Regions from separate parts of the Homo sapiens genome. Here region 2 is linked to region 1. Evidence: promoter capture Hi-C in human tissues and cell types (Jung and others, 2019). All regions are on one chromosome and are shown on one strand. Each heading gives the region's core, a stretch centred on a gene start or on the middle of the fragment in contact. The rest is flanking DNA. Distances are from core to core; before and after follow the strand shown. Region 1 holds the start of CAPZB (capping actin protein of muscle Z-line subunit beta). Region 2 holds the start of AKR7A3 (aldo-keto reductase family 7 member A3).

Region 1 (6,728 bases), core at 697-3,196:
GGGACTGAGGCACTTTCCCATCACCTGGCGAGAATCGCTGCTTCCTGCCTTATACTTTGTCCTGAGTGCACACTCAGGAAACTTCAGCCCACTTTCAAAGTCCTCACCCACCACTGCCCTGGAGAAGTCGTTCTCCATCAAGGCCTGGGGCCAGGCCCACCTCCCCAAACAAGGAGTTTTCAGCCAAAGTTACTGGACAAATCCGAAGGCCTTAAAAGTGGCATTGCCCATGTTTTTAATCAGCATACAGGAAGGCATCAAAAGAAAGCTTAACCCATCTCAACTACTCACCCTCGTTCAGCAGCAACATCCCTTGACTAAACAAGGAACCATGGTCCTCAAAACACTTTGAGGCCCAAAGTCCACATACAAACATGCTCCAAAAATCCCTTGATCCTGTCAGGAAGAAGTTCTCTGGCCCTTCCAACCTAAGTGCTGGGCCTGTCCTGCAGAAGGGTCAAGTGGCAGGAGGGCAGGTCTATCTGTGGGGGCCTATGTGAAACCCCAGGTTCCTCAAAAGTCTGGATAGCATCTGCCTTCTTTACCAAAACAAACACCACGAGCGGAGCCAGCACTCTCCCTAGGCGTTCTGCTCACCTGATCCGAGGGACTTCCATAATCAGCAGTTCCAACCCTTGCAAGCTGACAGTTCAGAGGGAAGGGGAGGCTGCGCCTGCTTGGGTGCATCGTGTCCAGGCCATATGCTGGATCCAGGGCCTGGTGGCCCCCCAAGGCCACGGCCTCACAAGGGCGATTGTGCGTTCATCCTTGTCCTGTGGGCCACCCATCCTCGCCCCTCGGCTCCCACTCAGGCCCGGGCGCCGTGGACCCCGGCCTGCCCTGCAGAATGCTTCGCACGCACAGCACCCACGGCGGCAGCCTCGAGAAGGGCCCGCAGAGCAGCGCGCTGCCTTCTGGGCACACCGATGCCCGCCCTTCCCTCGCTGGCTCCTAGGCGGCCTCCCTAGAAGCGGCAACTGAGAAGGCACAGCACCGGGACCACCCCATCCCTGATGGAGAGCTCCCCTCGCTCCCCAAAGGCTGCAAAGAAGGCGCGCCCCAGGTACAGGGAAGGGGACCCTGGGTCGTGCACCAGGCAGGGGGCAGGACCCTGATGAGAGGCTCAGGGCGGGGACCGAGCGGGGCTGACGCAGGTTACGCTAGGAGTGGCGAAAAGTCCAGGGAAGGGGATCATGGTGGGGAGGGGGCAGTGAGGTCCAGACGGGGGCCATGGGCGGAGAAGAGGAGGTCCAGATTTAAGTTCACAGAGAGAAGAGGAGATTCAGGCTGAGGCCACGGAGAAGAGGGGAAGCAAACCTAGGCCGCTGCAGAAGGGGCTGACCGGGGTCCAGCCTGAGGCCATGGAGAAGGCAAAGGGGGAGGGACAGAGGGAGGCAGCGGCCTAGCCTGGGCCATGGCAGGGAGAAACGACGGCCTAGCCTGGGCCGGAGAGACGGGGGAAAGCAGACCTAGCCCTAGACCGGGGGAGGAAGGGGGCCCACGCCAGGGTCACCGAGGGGGTGCCTGGCTGGGGACACGGTTCGGGAGGGAGGGTCTAGCCTGGGCTATGGGAGAGACCAGCCTGAACACAGAGGTAGTGAGTGGGACTCCAGCTTGCGCCAAGGGCGGGGGCTGGGAGCGGGGGCAGGGTCACTGCCACCCAAGTCGTCCGCGCCGGCGGCACCCTCCTGGGCGGGGAGGGACCGGGTCCACCCAGGGTCCGGGACCCCGCCCCTCCCCCACCCCGGGAAGCCACCCGTCCCAGGCCAGGGATGGGCAGGGGGAGGGGGACGCGAGCTCCGGAGGGGCCCCCGGGCCGGGGAGGGGGCCGTGCGGCCTTTACCATGGTGGCGGCGGCGGCGGCGGTCCCGGTCCCGGCGTCAGTGGCTCTCCCCCCCGCAGCAGGGCCCGGCGCTTCCACTTCCCCGGGTGCCCAGGAGTGAACATCCGGGTCAGCACCCCCCTCCCCCCGCGCCGGGCCGCCGCCACCTTCCTTCCCCGCCCCGGCCCGGCCCGGGCCCGCCCCCCACGCCGCCAGCTCGCGGCCAATGAGCGCGCGGGGCTGCGGCGATCGCCAAGTATGGAGAGCGGCGCGAGAGGCGGGCGCCGACGGGGTGCGGGGGCGGGGCCTGCGAGGCGGGGCGGGGCGCGGCGCTGCGCGGCGCGGCTGCCGGGAGTCCCCGGCACGGGTTGCGGGCCGGGGCGGAAAGGTCTCCTGGCTGTCTGAGGTCCAGTCCCCGACTCTGGGCCTGCAGCAGCGAGTGGCGGCGAGGGAACCGCACCCCACAGTCCCCGCGGGCGGGGATGCGGAAGGCACCGCGGCTGGGAGGGGACCGGCCCTCCGCGCCCCACCCCGTGCACGCGCTCACTCCTGCGGCGCACCCGGAACTGCCGCCGAGCGCGGACCGGCCCGGCCCAGCCCAACCCAGCCCAACCCAGCACTGGGGGAGCGCGCCGGGAGCGGGGCAGGAGCCCAGCGCTGCCGCTCGCTACGGCAGGATCTGGAGCGCCGCGCTGCACCTGAGCCCGGGCACGAATTGAGGAGCCTCGGGCTGACGCCATTTATTCAGCACCTACTATGTGCCAGGCCTTGTTTAGGCACCGGAAGATAACAGATAAGACATAAAGATCCCTGCCGGTATAGCTGCAGACAGAATATCTGTGAGGATGACACAGGTAGAGATTAGAAAATTAAGTTCAACAGGTCGGCCGCGGTGGCTCACGCCTGTAATCCCAGCACTTTGGAAGGCCGAGGCGGGCCAAGGTCAAGAGATCGAGACCATCCTGGCCAACATGGTGAAACCCCGTTTCTACTAAAAATACAAAAATTAGCTGGGCGTGGTGGTTCGCTCCTATAGTCCCAGCTACTCGGGAGGCTGAGGCAGGAGAATCGTTTGAACCCGGGGGCAGAGGTTGCAGTGAGCCAAGATCGCGCCACTGCACCCCAGCCTGGCGACAGAGCAAGACTCTGTCTCAAAAGAAAAAAAATTAAGTTCAACAAATGCTAGCTGTTATGAGTACTGTTGAATGTGCTACAGAGAACCATTCCATTAGCCCAGAAGGGCTTCCTCGCTCCACAAAGTGACTCAAGTTTCTCTCTCCCAATCTCTCTCTCTCTCTCTCAATCAAATATTTGTTAAGCTTAGTCTAGGTAGCAGGAGAGATCTGGATTGCTAACAATATCTGCCTCCGTGGCCTGTTTGCTTTGGTTAAATCAAATTAGGCGATCTGTGAGGGGATGGTAAACTGCACAGATGACAGGAATTGTTTCCCTGAGCCAGGCCCTGTCCTCAGGGAGCTCATAGACAAGTCGAAGCTTTCACAGGTAGCCACTGGCAGAAAAAGCATACGGGTAAGTCTCGCAAGAATGGTATTGGATGAGTATTACAGAAATTCAAGGAAGAGAATGGCACACGCAGTAGATACTTATTGAGCATCTGCTATGTGCCAAGCACTGTGCTAGGCTCTGGAAATAGAGCAATGAGCAAAATAACCCACATGGTTGTGGAGCTTGAGTGTTGTCAGGGAGACAGTCGGCCACCAGGCAAATACAGTGTCCAAGGCCAGGCACAGTGGCTCACGCCTGTAATCTCAGCACTTTGGGAGGCCGAGGTGGGCAATCGCTTGAAGTCAGGAGTTCCAGATCAGCCTGGCTAACATGGCGAAACCCCGTCTACTAAAAATACACAAAGTTAGCCGAGGCCGGGCGCAGTGGCTCACGCCTGTAATCCTAGCACTTTGGGAGGCCGAGGTGGGCGGATCACGGGGTCAGGAGATCGAGACCATCTTGGCTAACACGGTGAAACTCCGTCTCTACTAAAAATAAAAAAATTAGCTGGGCGGGATGACGGGCGCCTGTAGTCCCAGCTACTCGGGAGGCTGAGGCAGGAGAATGGCGTGAACCCGGGAGGCGGAGCTTGCAGTGAGCCGAGATCGCGCCACTGCACTCCAGCCTGGGCGACAGAGAGAGACTTCGTCTCAAAAATAAAATAGTAATAATAATAATACAGTGTCGGGTAGTGATTAGAGATAATGAGAAAAATTCAAGCAAACAGGTAGGCAGGCAAGGCCTAACTTAGCAATATTTGATCATATAGCTGAAGGGAAGGAGGGAGCAAGCCGTGTGGATAGCAGAGGCACAAGGAGCAGCAAGGGTAAAAACCCTGAAGGTGACAGTGCTGCATCAGCACTGGTGTGTTTTCAAGGGCCAGACAGGAGGCCAGTGTGGCTAGCCTAGGTCGAGCAGGAGCTGAAGGACAGGGCAATGACAAGATTTGACCTAGGCTTTAAAAGGATCATGAGGCTGCTGTGTTCTGAATGGACTGTAGGGGGACTAGGGCCTTAGAAAGCCATTTCTATATTGAGGACATTTATTTATTTAAAAAGCACTGATATGGCACATCCTATGTGATGAACACTGTTAAGCACCTTACAGATAATAAGCCATTTAATCCTCATGACAGAAGCCTGAAAAGGTAAGGAGCTTGCCCAAGGTCACACAGCAGAGAGATGAAGCTGGCTTAGACCAGGGTAGTAGCATTGGAGATGGCAAGAAGTAGATAGTATTCTAGGTATTTCCTGATGTATTGGTGGTAGGCATGAGAAGAAAGGAATCAAGGATGATGCTAAGATTTTTTTTTTCATATTTAAAGACTTTGTCTTCTGTTGTTTTTTGTTTTGAGACAGTGTCTCAGTTCTGTTGCCCAGACTGGAGTGCAGTGGCGCAATCATAGCTCACTGCAGCCTCAACACCCCCGGACTCAAGTGATCCTCCCACCTCAGCCCCTCCCCACCCCCGCCCTGAGTAGCTGGGACTACAGGCGTGCATCACCGTGCCAGGCTAATTTTTTTGTAGAGACTGAGTCGCACTGTATTACCCAGGCTGGTCTCGAACTCCTGGGCTTAAGCAATCCTCCCACCTCAGCCTCCTAAAGTGCTGGGATTACAGGCATGAGCCACTGCACCCGGCCAAGACTTTGTTTTTTAGAGCAGTTTTAGTTTCACAAGAAAATTGAGAGGAAGGTACAGAGACAATCCATATATACCCCCCTGCCCCACATATGCAGAGCCTCCCTGAATTGTCCCCATTCCCCACTAGTGTGGTACATCTGTTGCAAATAACCTGCATTCATACATCGTGATCACCCAATAGTTTACATTAGGGTTCACTTATACAATCTATGGGCTTGGAGAAGTGGATAATTACATCTAGCCACCGTTAGAACCATCATACGGAATATTTTCACTGCCCTAAAAATCCCCCGTGTTCCACCTCTTCATCCCCTTTCCCCCAGCTCCTGGCAACCACTGATCTTTTTACTCCATAGTTTTGCCTGATGCTAAGGTTTTTGGCTTAACACTGGAAGGATTTACCATTTATTGATCTGGGGAAGACTGTAGGAGGAGCAGGGTTTTTCTGAGGAGAGGGTTGTGGATAAGAGGGAGCAAGTTATGTTTGAGATGCCTATTGGAGATTTTTTTGTTTTTGTTTTTGAGATGGAGTCTCACTCTGTCGCCCAGGCTGGAGTGCAGTGGTGCGATCTCGGCTCACTGCAGCCTCCGTCTCCTGGATTCAAGCAATTCTCCCACCTCAGCCTCCCAAGGAGCTGGGACTGCAGGCGTGCGCCACCACGCCTGGCTGATTTTTGAATTTTTAGCAGAGACAGGATTTCACCATGTTGGCCAGGCTGGTCTTGAACTCCTGACCTCAAATGATCTGCCCGCCTTGGCCTCCCAAAGTTCTAGGATTACAGATGTGAGCCACCATGCCTGGCCTCCTACTGGAGATTTTTTATTTTATTTTATTTTTTTTGAGACGGAGTCTGGCTGTGTCGCCCAGGCTGGAGTGCAGTGGCACAATCTCGGCTCACTGCAAGCTCCGCCTCCCGGGTTCACGCCATTCTCCTGCCTCAGCCTCCCGAGTAGCTGGGACTACAGGTGCCCGCCACTACACCTGGCTAATTTTTTTTTGTATTTTTAGTAGAGATGGGGTTTCACCATGTTAGCCAAGATGGTCTTGATCTCCTGACCTCATGATCCGCCCACCTCGGCCTCCCAAAGTGCTGGGATTACAGGCGTGAGCCACCGCGCCAGGCCCCTCCTACTGGAGATTTAAATGGAGATGTCAGGTGGGCGTGGTGGCTCACACCTGTAATTCTAGCACTTTGGGGAGACAAGTGGATCACCTGAGGTCAGGAGTTCAAAACCAGCCTGGCCAACATGGTGAAACCCTGTCTCTACTAAAAATACCAAAATTAGGTGGGCATGGTGGCACATGCCTGTAATCCCAGCTACTCAGGAGGCTGAGCCAGGAGAATCACTTGAACCCAGAGGTGGAGGATGCAGTGAGCAGAGATTGCACCACTGCACTCCAGGCTGGGTAACAGAGTGATACTCCATCTCAAAAAATAAAAATAAAAATAAATAAATGGAGATATCAAATAAGTAATTAGATATGGAAGTTTGGAGTTGGGGGAAGAAGTTAGAGCTGTGATAAACTTATGAGAACTGTCAGCTAGTAAATGGCATGTAAAGATACTTGAAAGCACAGACATCTTGGTGAACTCACTTTGTGGGTGAATGTAGAGAGAAGAGGTCATGAAGATAAAGAGGAACCAGCAGAAAGACTGAGAAGGAATGACCCGCGAGGCAGGAACAGGACCAAGAAAAGGTGGTGTCCTTCTTGGATACCAAGGGATGGAGGCCAAGCCTGAAGGAAAGTTCATTCA
Region 2 (7,354 bases), core at 1,645-4,144, 200 kb before region 1:
CCTGGCTCTCACCTGGTACACAGTGGGCAGGATCCAGCCGTTGCTCTTGCAGAGGGTACAGATCTCGGCCACTTCCCAGGCTGCATAGTTGGAGAGGCCAAGCTCCACGAACTTGCCCTGCTCAGGTGAGGCTCCAGTCAGAACATAGTGCAGCCCAGACCAGGAAAGGGAGGCCAGGGTGGGGCCCCTGGGAGTTGGGCTGTTCCCTGCTCCACCCTGGAACAGCCCTGGTGCCTCTGCTCTCACCATTAGGATCAGGATAAGGAGAGCAGCAGTGGACCACCTCCCAGAGCTCAGGGGTCCCCTCACCTCCTGGTGCAGCTGGTGGCAGGCACGCAGTGTCTCTTCCACCGGGGTGCTGTGGTCTGGCATATGCAGGTAGAAGAGGTCCACTCGGGGACACTGCAGCCGCTTCAGTGACGTCTCCAGCTGGAACCGGAGACTGTCAGGCTTCAGGGAGTTCCCAAACAGTGGAATGGCCTTGGTATCAATTTTCACTGAGAGGAAAGAGAAATGAAATTCAGGGCCAGGCGCCGTGGCTCATGCCTGTAATCCCAGCACTTTGGGAGACTGAGGCAGGCAAATCAGAAGGTCAGGAGTTCAAGACCAGCTGGACCAACATGGTGAAACCCCATCTCTAATAAAAACACAAAAATTAGCTGGGCATAGTGGAGCCCGCCTGTAGTCCCCAGCTAGTCCGGAGTCTGAGGCAGGAGAATTGCTTGAACCCGGGAGGCGGAGGTTGCAGTGAGCCGAGATTGTGCCACAGCACAATGTCTCACAGAGTGAGACTTCTCAAAAAACAAACAAACAAACAAAACAAACAACAAAAAAAAAGAATCTTAGTTCCTAGTGAACTGGACTAACAGGTGAGTGGAGAGTCCTCTTCCCACTTTTCACACTTAGAAAGTCACCTAGGCTGGCAGGAGGGCAGTCACTGGAGCCCTTGAGGCCTAGCAAAGAGCAGGTTTGAGGAACTATTCATATGGAATTTTTCCATTCCACCACCACCCCTCTGCTTCTCAATTGAATTTAACTTCAGATCAGATCTGAGGACTTTCGCCAGCCAACCTTGGACTCAGACAGAAGACAAAGAAGGATTAAAAAAGGAAAGAAAAAAAAATCAGAAATAAGGGCCAGGCAGAGGGTACAGATCTGTGGTGGCTCACACCTGTAATCTCAGCACTTTGGGAGGCCAGAGCAGGAGGATCACTTGAGCTCAGGGGTTTAAGACCAGCCTGGGCAACAAAGTGAGACTCCAGTTTCAATGAATAATACAAAAAATTAGCCGGGTGTGGTGCTACTGTAGTAGTCCCAGCTACTCAGGAGACTGAGGTGGGAGGATGGCTTGAGCCCTGAGAGGTCAAAGCTGCAATGAGCCCTATCGCACCACTCCACTCCAGCCTGGGCAAAAAAGCAAGACCCTGTCTCAAAAAAAAAAAAAAAATCAGAAATATGGTTAGAGCTCTCACTGAGTGGCAGCCGGGTGATCTAGAAAGAGCGTGGCACTGGGATGCACGCACAGGCCAGGTTCGTTCTGGATCTACCATGTGGTGAATCAGAGGAGAAATAAGACTCCACTCAGACACTCAGTGGAAGGAGGCAAATGGTGCTAATACTAAGAACAAACAAACAGCTAACATTTCCCAGCCCTCACTATGTGCCTGCCAGGCATCGGCCTAAGCACTGCAAATGGCATCAGACTGAGGGCGGCTCCTCCTGCCCCTATACACACATCCTCCCCTCCGGCCACACCTGCCTCCTCCAGCACCCGCGGCATTGCCAAAACACATTTGCCTTTCCACACCCATGCCCACTGCCCTGACGCCCTTGCCCCTTGTACTCTTCCTGGCAAACTCCTATCCATTCTTTCTTCACGGGGTCCCTCCCAGGAAGGGGTCACTCTGGGCTCCCCAGCCATCTCTAGAACTGGAGCTTCCTGGAGTGGGTTAGTGTCCATTTCTCTCCAATAGCCTCCGACAGAGCCTCCCACAGAGAGGGCAGTGAGACTCTGTACCACCCCAATCCCTCATCCCCCTGAGGGAGCTGCCAAGGCTTCCGGGCACTGCCACCCTTGTGAGGTGCCCTTGTGAGTACCACAAGGTACTCAGAGCAAAGTCCGGGGCCCCGAGCAGGCTGGCATGTGCAAAGGAGGAAGCAGATAGTGTGCTGGGTCCAAACTCTGATTTTGGACTGTGCCAGGGAGTGCCAGGCGGTAAGAACAGAATTTCTGCAGATCAGGCCCGTCAAGGGCACCTGGAGGGCACAGGTGGGGACAGGAGCTGCACAATGCCAGATCCCAGTGTTTTTTGTGCTCCAGAGAGGGGCTAGCCAAGTCATTCCAGGCAAGACCAAGTCATCCAGGCGTCAGTGAGGGTGCTGGCTACCTCCCGGAAGAGAAGAGAGACGAACAGAAGAGAAGACGAGAGAAAAGTTGTCCGGAGCTAGACGTGCCTAAGGAGCCTGGTGTTCCCAAGGCTGCGAGGTGAACAGGGGTGGGGGCGGTGGGGGGGACAAAACTTTGGGTGCTGCCCCGGGGCCAGGGAGAGCGGGGCGGTACACGGCTGTGGACAGGCTCAGCTCTGCACCGTGCAGGGGGAGGATCAGGGGCCACTGTTACCTCTGCAGTCGCTGCCGCCCAGCCGGAGCCCCAGGCCGCCAAGGATGGTCTCGGACTGGCCCTCGCTGTACACGAAGGCCGTGTCTATCTCGGTGTGGCCGCGCTCCAGGAAGGCGCGCGTGACTGCGGCGCTGGTGGGCGCGTCCATGCGGCGCCCCATCTCCATGGCGCCCAGCACCGTGGCTGGCCGGGCCCGCGACAGCTGCCGGGACATGACGGCGGCAACGGGAGACTGTGACAGCCCAGGAGCCGCGCGCAGCGGTCGGAAGCACCAGGCTCGGAGCGGGCGGCCTCGTGGCTTTAGAGACGGGCTCGGGCCCCGCCCACCGGCGGGTGCAGCTGAGGGCGCGGCCGAAGGTGCCCGACGCCGCCCACGAGCTCGACTCCACGCTCGGCTACTAGGACCTTCTGCACTTGCACCGAGCAAGCAGCGAAATGGCTGTGGCTTCGTACCGGTGACTCGCGTCTTGGAGATTTTAACACTCCTCAACGTCCCCAAGGGTGAGGGGGTCCAAGGGTGGCGACTATCCCAAAAGGCGGGGACTCTTCGGGCCTCCCTGCCCCGTCGTCCCTCCTTCCTCGGCCTTGCCCCGGAGCTGTCCTGGGTTTCTGTCTCCTCCCGGAGGGAGCGCTTACGGGGTGGGGTGGACCTAGGGCTGTCGCGCCTGCCGTGTGGTCCTGGAGAATGAGGCTTACCAAAGGCTCAAGACAGCGTCCCCATGGAGTGACATGGTTAAAGTGTTGAAAGAAAAGAACTGTTGGCATTGAATTCTGTACCTAAGTGAAAAAAAACTGACTGGCTCTGGTGACTTAACGCCTGTAATGCCAACACTTTGAGAGATCAAGGCAGGAGGATCACTTGAGCCCAGGAGTTTGAACCCAGCCTGGGCAACATAGGGAGGCCCTGTCTCAAAAGAAAAAAAAAAAGATAGAAAAATGGACCAGTGCCCAGCGGCAGTGAGCTGTGATAGCTCTACTGCACTCCACCCTGGGTGACAGAGGGCAAATCTGTCTCCAAATACAAAAGAAAAAAAAAGACCAATAGACAGATGGAACAAATGAAAAACCAATAGCAAAATTGATTTAAACCCAATCATATCAATAATTACATAAATATAAATGATGTAAATGCTCACAAGTAAAAGGCAGTGATTGTTAGAATGGATAAAAAAGCAAAACCAAACTATATGGTAAATACCAGAAAGCTATTCAAATATAAAAGCAGAGATAGTTTAAGAGCAAAAAGATGGGAAAAGACATACACTGACAAAACTAAATTTTAAGAAGTTGGAATGGCTAAGTGAATATCAGACAAAGTAGATTGCAAAACAAAGAATACTGGCCCACACAGTGGGTGACATACTAGCCCACACCTGTAATGTTAGCACTTTGGGAGCCTGAGAAGGGAGGATTGCTTAAGTCCAGGAGTTTGAGACTAGCCTGGGCAACACAGGGAGATCTTATCGCTACAACAAAATTTTAAAAATTATCAAATTGTGGTAGCATGCACCTGTGGTCCCAGTTACTTGGGAGGCAGAGGTGGGAGAATCATCTACGCCTGGGAGGTCGAAGCTGCAGATTGAGACCCTGTCTCAAAACAGCAACAACAACAACAACTACCAAAGACAAAGAGGGACATACCATAATGACAAAGAGGTCAATTAATAAAGAAGATATAATTCTAAATATATATGCACCTAAGCATAGATCATCAAAATACATGAAAAACAATAATGGAACTAAAGAACAAGTAGATAAATACAAAATTATAATTGGAGATTTCAACACACCATTCTCAATAGTTGTAGAACAGTTATCAGTCATAATTTACGGAAACTCCGTAAAGGTATACAAGACTCAATGCTATGAACCAATTCCACATAAACAACATGAATAGAATATCCAACAACAGCAGGATATGCATTCTTTTCAAGTGCCCATCCACCAAGATATACCATATTTGGAGGCATAAAACAAGTCTTAATAAATGTAAAAGAGGCTGGGAGCGGTGGTTCACGCCTGTAATCCCAGCACTTTGGGAGGCCAAGGCATGTGGATTAACTGAGGTCAGGAGTTTGAGACCAGCCTGGCCAACACAGTGAAACCCCGTCTCCACTAAAAATACAAAAATTAGCTAGGCGTGGTGGCGTGCCCCTGTAATCTCAGCTACTCAGGAGGCTGAGGCAGGAGAATCACTTAAACCTGGTTGGTGGAGAGTGCAGTAAGCCGAGATCAGGCCATTGCACTCTAGCTTGGGCAACAGAGTGAGACTCCATATTAAAAATAAATAAATAAATAAATAAATAAATTTGAAAGGATTCCAATCATACAAAGTACATCTCTGAACACGATGGAATTAAACTAGAAAATAATAACACAGGCTGGGTGCGGTGGCTCACACCTTTAATCCCAGCACTTTGGGAGGCCAAGGTGGGCAGATCACTTGAGGTCAGAAGTTCAAGACCAGCCTGTCCAATATGGTGAAACCCCATCTCTACTAAAAATACAAAAAAATTAGCCGAGCATTGTGGTGTGTGCCTGTAATCCCAGCTACTCAGGAGGCTGAGGCAGGAGAATTGCTTAAACCTGGGAGGCGGAGGTTGCAGTGAGCCAAGATCGCACCACTGCACTCCAGCCTGGGTGACAGAGAAAGACTCTACCTCAAAAAAAAAAAAAAAAGAAAGAAAGAAAAAAAGAAAAGAAAAGAAAAGAATAACAGAATTTAGAGCCTGAGAGGGAACTGAAAATAAGTAAATAAGTTAACAAATAGAAGAAAAAGGAAAAATAGAAAATAATAATGGAATGATATCTGGAAAATCCCCACATATTTAGAAATTAAATAACCCATGGGTCAAATATGTAATCACAAGGAAAATTAGATCATATTTTGAACTGAATGAAAGTAAAAACAGGACATATCAAATTTTCTGAGATGCAGCCACAGTAGTGCTATGAGGGAAATTTATAGCACCACTTTGACATATTACAAAAGAAGAAATATTTCAGATCAATAATGTAAGCATTTACTTTTTTTTTTTTTTTTTTTTGAGACACAGTCTCACTCTGTCACACAGGCTGGAGAGCAGTGGTGCAATCTCAGCTCCCTGCAACCTCAGCCTCCTGGGTTCAATCAATTCTCATGTCCCAGTTTCCTGAGTAGTTGGAATTACAGGCATGCACCACCATGCCCGGCTAATTTTTGTATTTTTAGTAGAGAAGGGGTCTCACCATGTTTGCCAGGCTGGTCTTGAACTCCTGGCTTCAAGGGATCCTCTCGCCTCAGCCTCCCAAAGTGCTGGGATTACAGGTGTGAGCCACTGCACCGGCCGAGGCTTGTACTTTAAGAAACCACAAAAGGAAGAGTCAAGTAAAACCAAAATTAGCAGAAGAAAGGAAATAATAAAAATAATAGCCAAAATAGGCTGATGTGGGAGAATCGTTTGAACCCGGGAGGCAGAAGCTGCAGTGAGCCAAGATCACTCCTCTGCACGCCAGCCTGGGAAACAGAGCAAGACTCCATCTCAAAGAAAAAAAAAAGCCAAAATAAATGAAATATAAAACAAAAACATCAGCAAAAGTCAGTAAAACCAGAAGTAGTTCTATAAACACATCGCTAAAGTTGATAAACCTCTGGCTAGACTGATCAGGAATAAAAGAGAGAATACACAGATTAACCACACCAGAAAGAGCAGAAGAGACACCACTACAAATTATACAAATTTATCATTTTAAGTGATATTTAAATGTCATTAAATGACATTAAATGACATTTTAAATGACAATAGGGTAGATTATTAAAACCTTTATGTGAATACATTTAGTAAGTTAGATGAAATGGACAATTTCCTTGAAAAACACAAACTACCAAAGTTTATGTTTGGAAAATGAGTAAGGAATGTGTTTGGAAAATGAGTAAGGAAAAATGAGACAGCCGGGCGCAGTGGCTCATGCCTGTAATCCCAGCACTTTGGGAGGCCGAGGCAGGCAGATCACTTGAGGTCAGGAATTGGAGACCAGCCTGGTCAACATGCTGAGACCCCATCTCCACTAAAAATCCAAAAATTAGCTGGGTGTGGTGGTGTGTGCCTATAATCAGTTACTTGGAAGGCTGAGGCAAGGAGAAACGTTTGAACCCAGGAGGCAGAGGTTCCAGTGAGCCAAGATCATACCACTGCACTCCAGCCTGGGCGACAGAGCCAGGCCCCGTCTAAAAAAATAAAAAAAACAACAACCTGAATTTTTTTTTTTTCTTAAGACAGGGTCTTGCTTTGTCTTCTGAGTTCAATGGTGCAATCATAGCTCACTGCAGCCTCAACGTCCTGGGCTCAAGCGATCCTTCTGCCCAAGCCTCCCAAGTAGCTGGGACTACAGGTGCACCTCAATACACCTGGCTAATTTTGTAAAAATATTTTTGTAGAGACAGGGTCTCGCTATATTGCTCAGGCTGGTTTCAAACTCCTGGGTTCAAGTATTCTTCCTGCCTCACCCTCCCAAAGTGCTGGAATTACAAGTGTGAGCCATCTCGTCTAGCCCAGATATTGAATTCTTGATAAAAAAAAATATTTCCACAAAGAAAACTCCAGGTCTACATGGCTTCATTGGACACTTAAGGAAGAAACAACATCAATTCTGGACAAATGTTTCTAGTATATAGAAGAGGAGAGGTCACTTACCAACTCATCTTGAAGCTAGCATTACCAGATACCAAATGACACAAAGATGTTACAAGAAAAG

What was found. Contacts are between HindIII fragments. The study calls those that stand out against the background at their distance.
Region 2: the fragment with the promoter of AKR7A3 here is called in contact with the fragment with the promoter of CAPZB in region 1 in 1 of the 25 tissues and cell types used here (ovary).

What each region holds. Positions count from the first base shown.
Region 1 is chr1:19,483,593-19,490,320 of GRCh38, forward strand. It overlaps CAPZB (capping actin protein of muscle Z-line subunit beta), which reads right to left and starts at 1,947. Exons shown (of 9, transcript NM_004930.5): 1 at 1,844-1,947. The coding sequence starts at 1,846. It also overlaps a transcript of LOC105376819 not described here. RefSeq lists enhancers at 224-732, 733-1,240, 1,241-1,749, 3,783-4,290 and silencers at 1,654-1,763, 1,794-2,523. The HindIII fragment of the contact is 6,884 bases long and covers 1-6,004 here.
Region 2 is chr1:19,285,876-19,293,229 of GRCh38, forward strand. AKR7A3 (aldo-keto reductase family 7 member A3) reads right to left here and starts at 2,895. Exons shown (of 7, transcript NM_012067.3): 1 at 2,621-2,895; 2 at 310-497; 3 at 13-117. The coding sequence starts at 2,834. LOC124903867 (a long non-coding RNA gene) reads left to right here and starts at 2,185. Exons shown (of 3, transcript XR_007065521.1): 1 at 2,185-2,485. RefSeq lists enhancers at 2,128-2,950, 2,951-3,772. The HindIII fragment of the contact is 16,987 bases long and covers 1-7,354 here.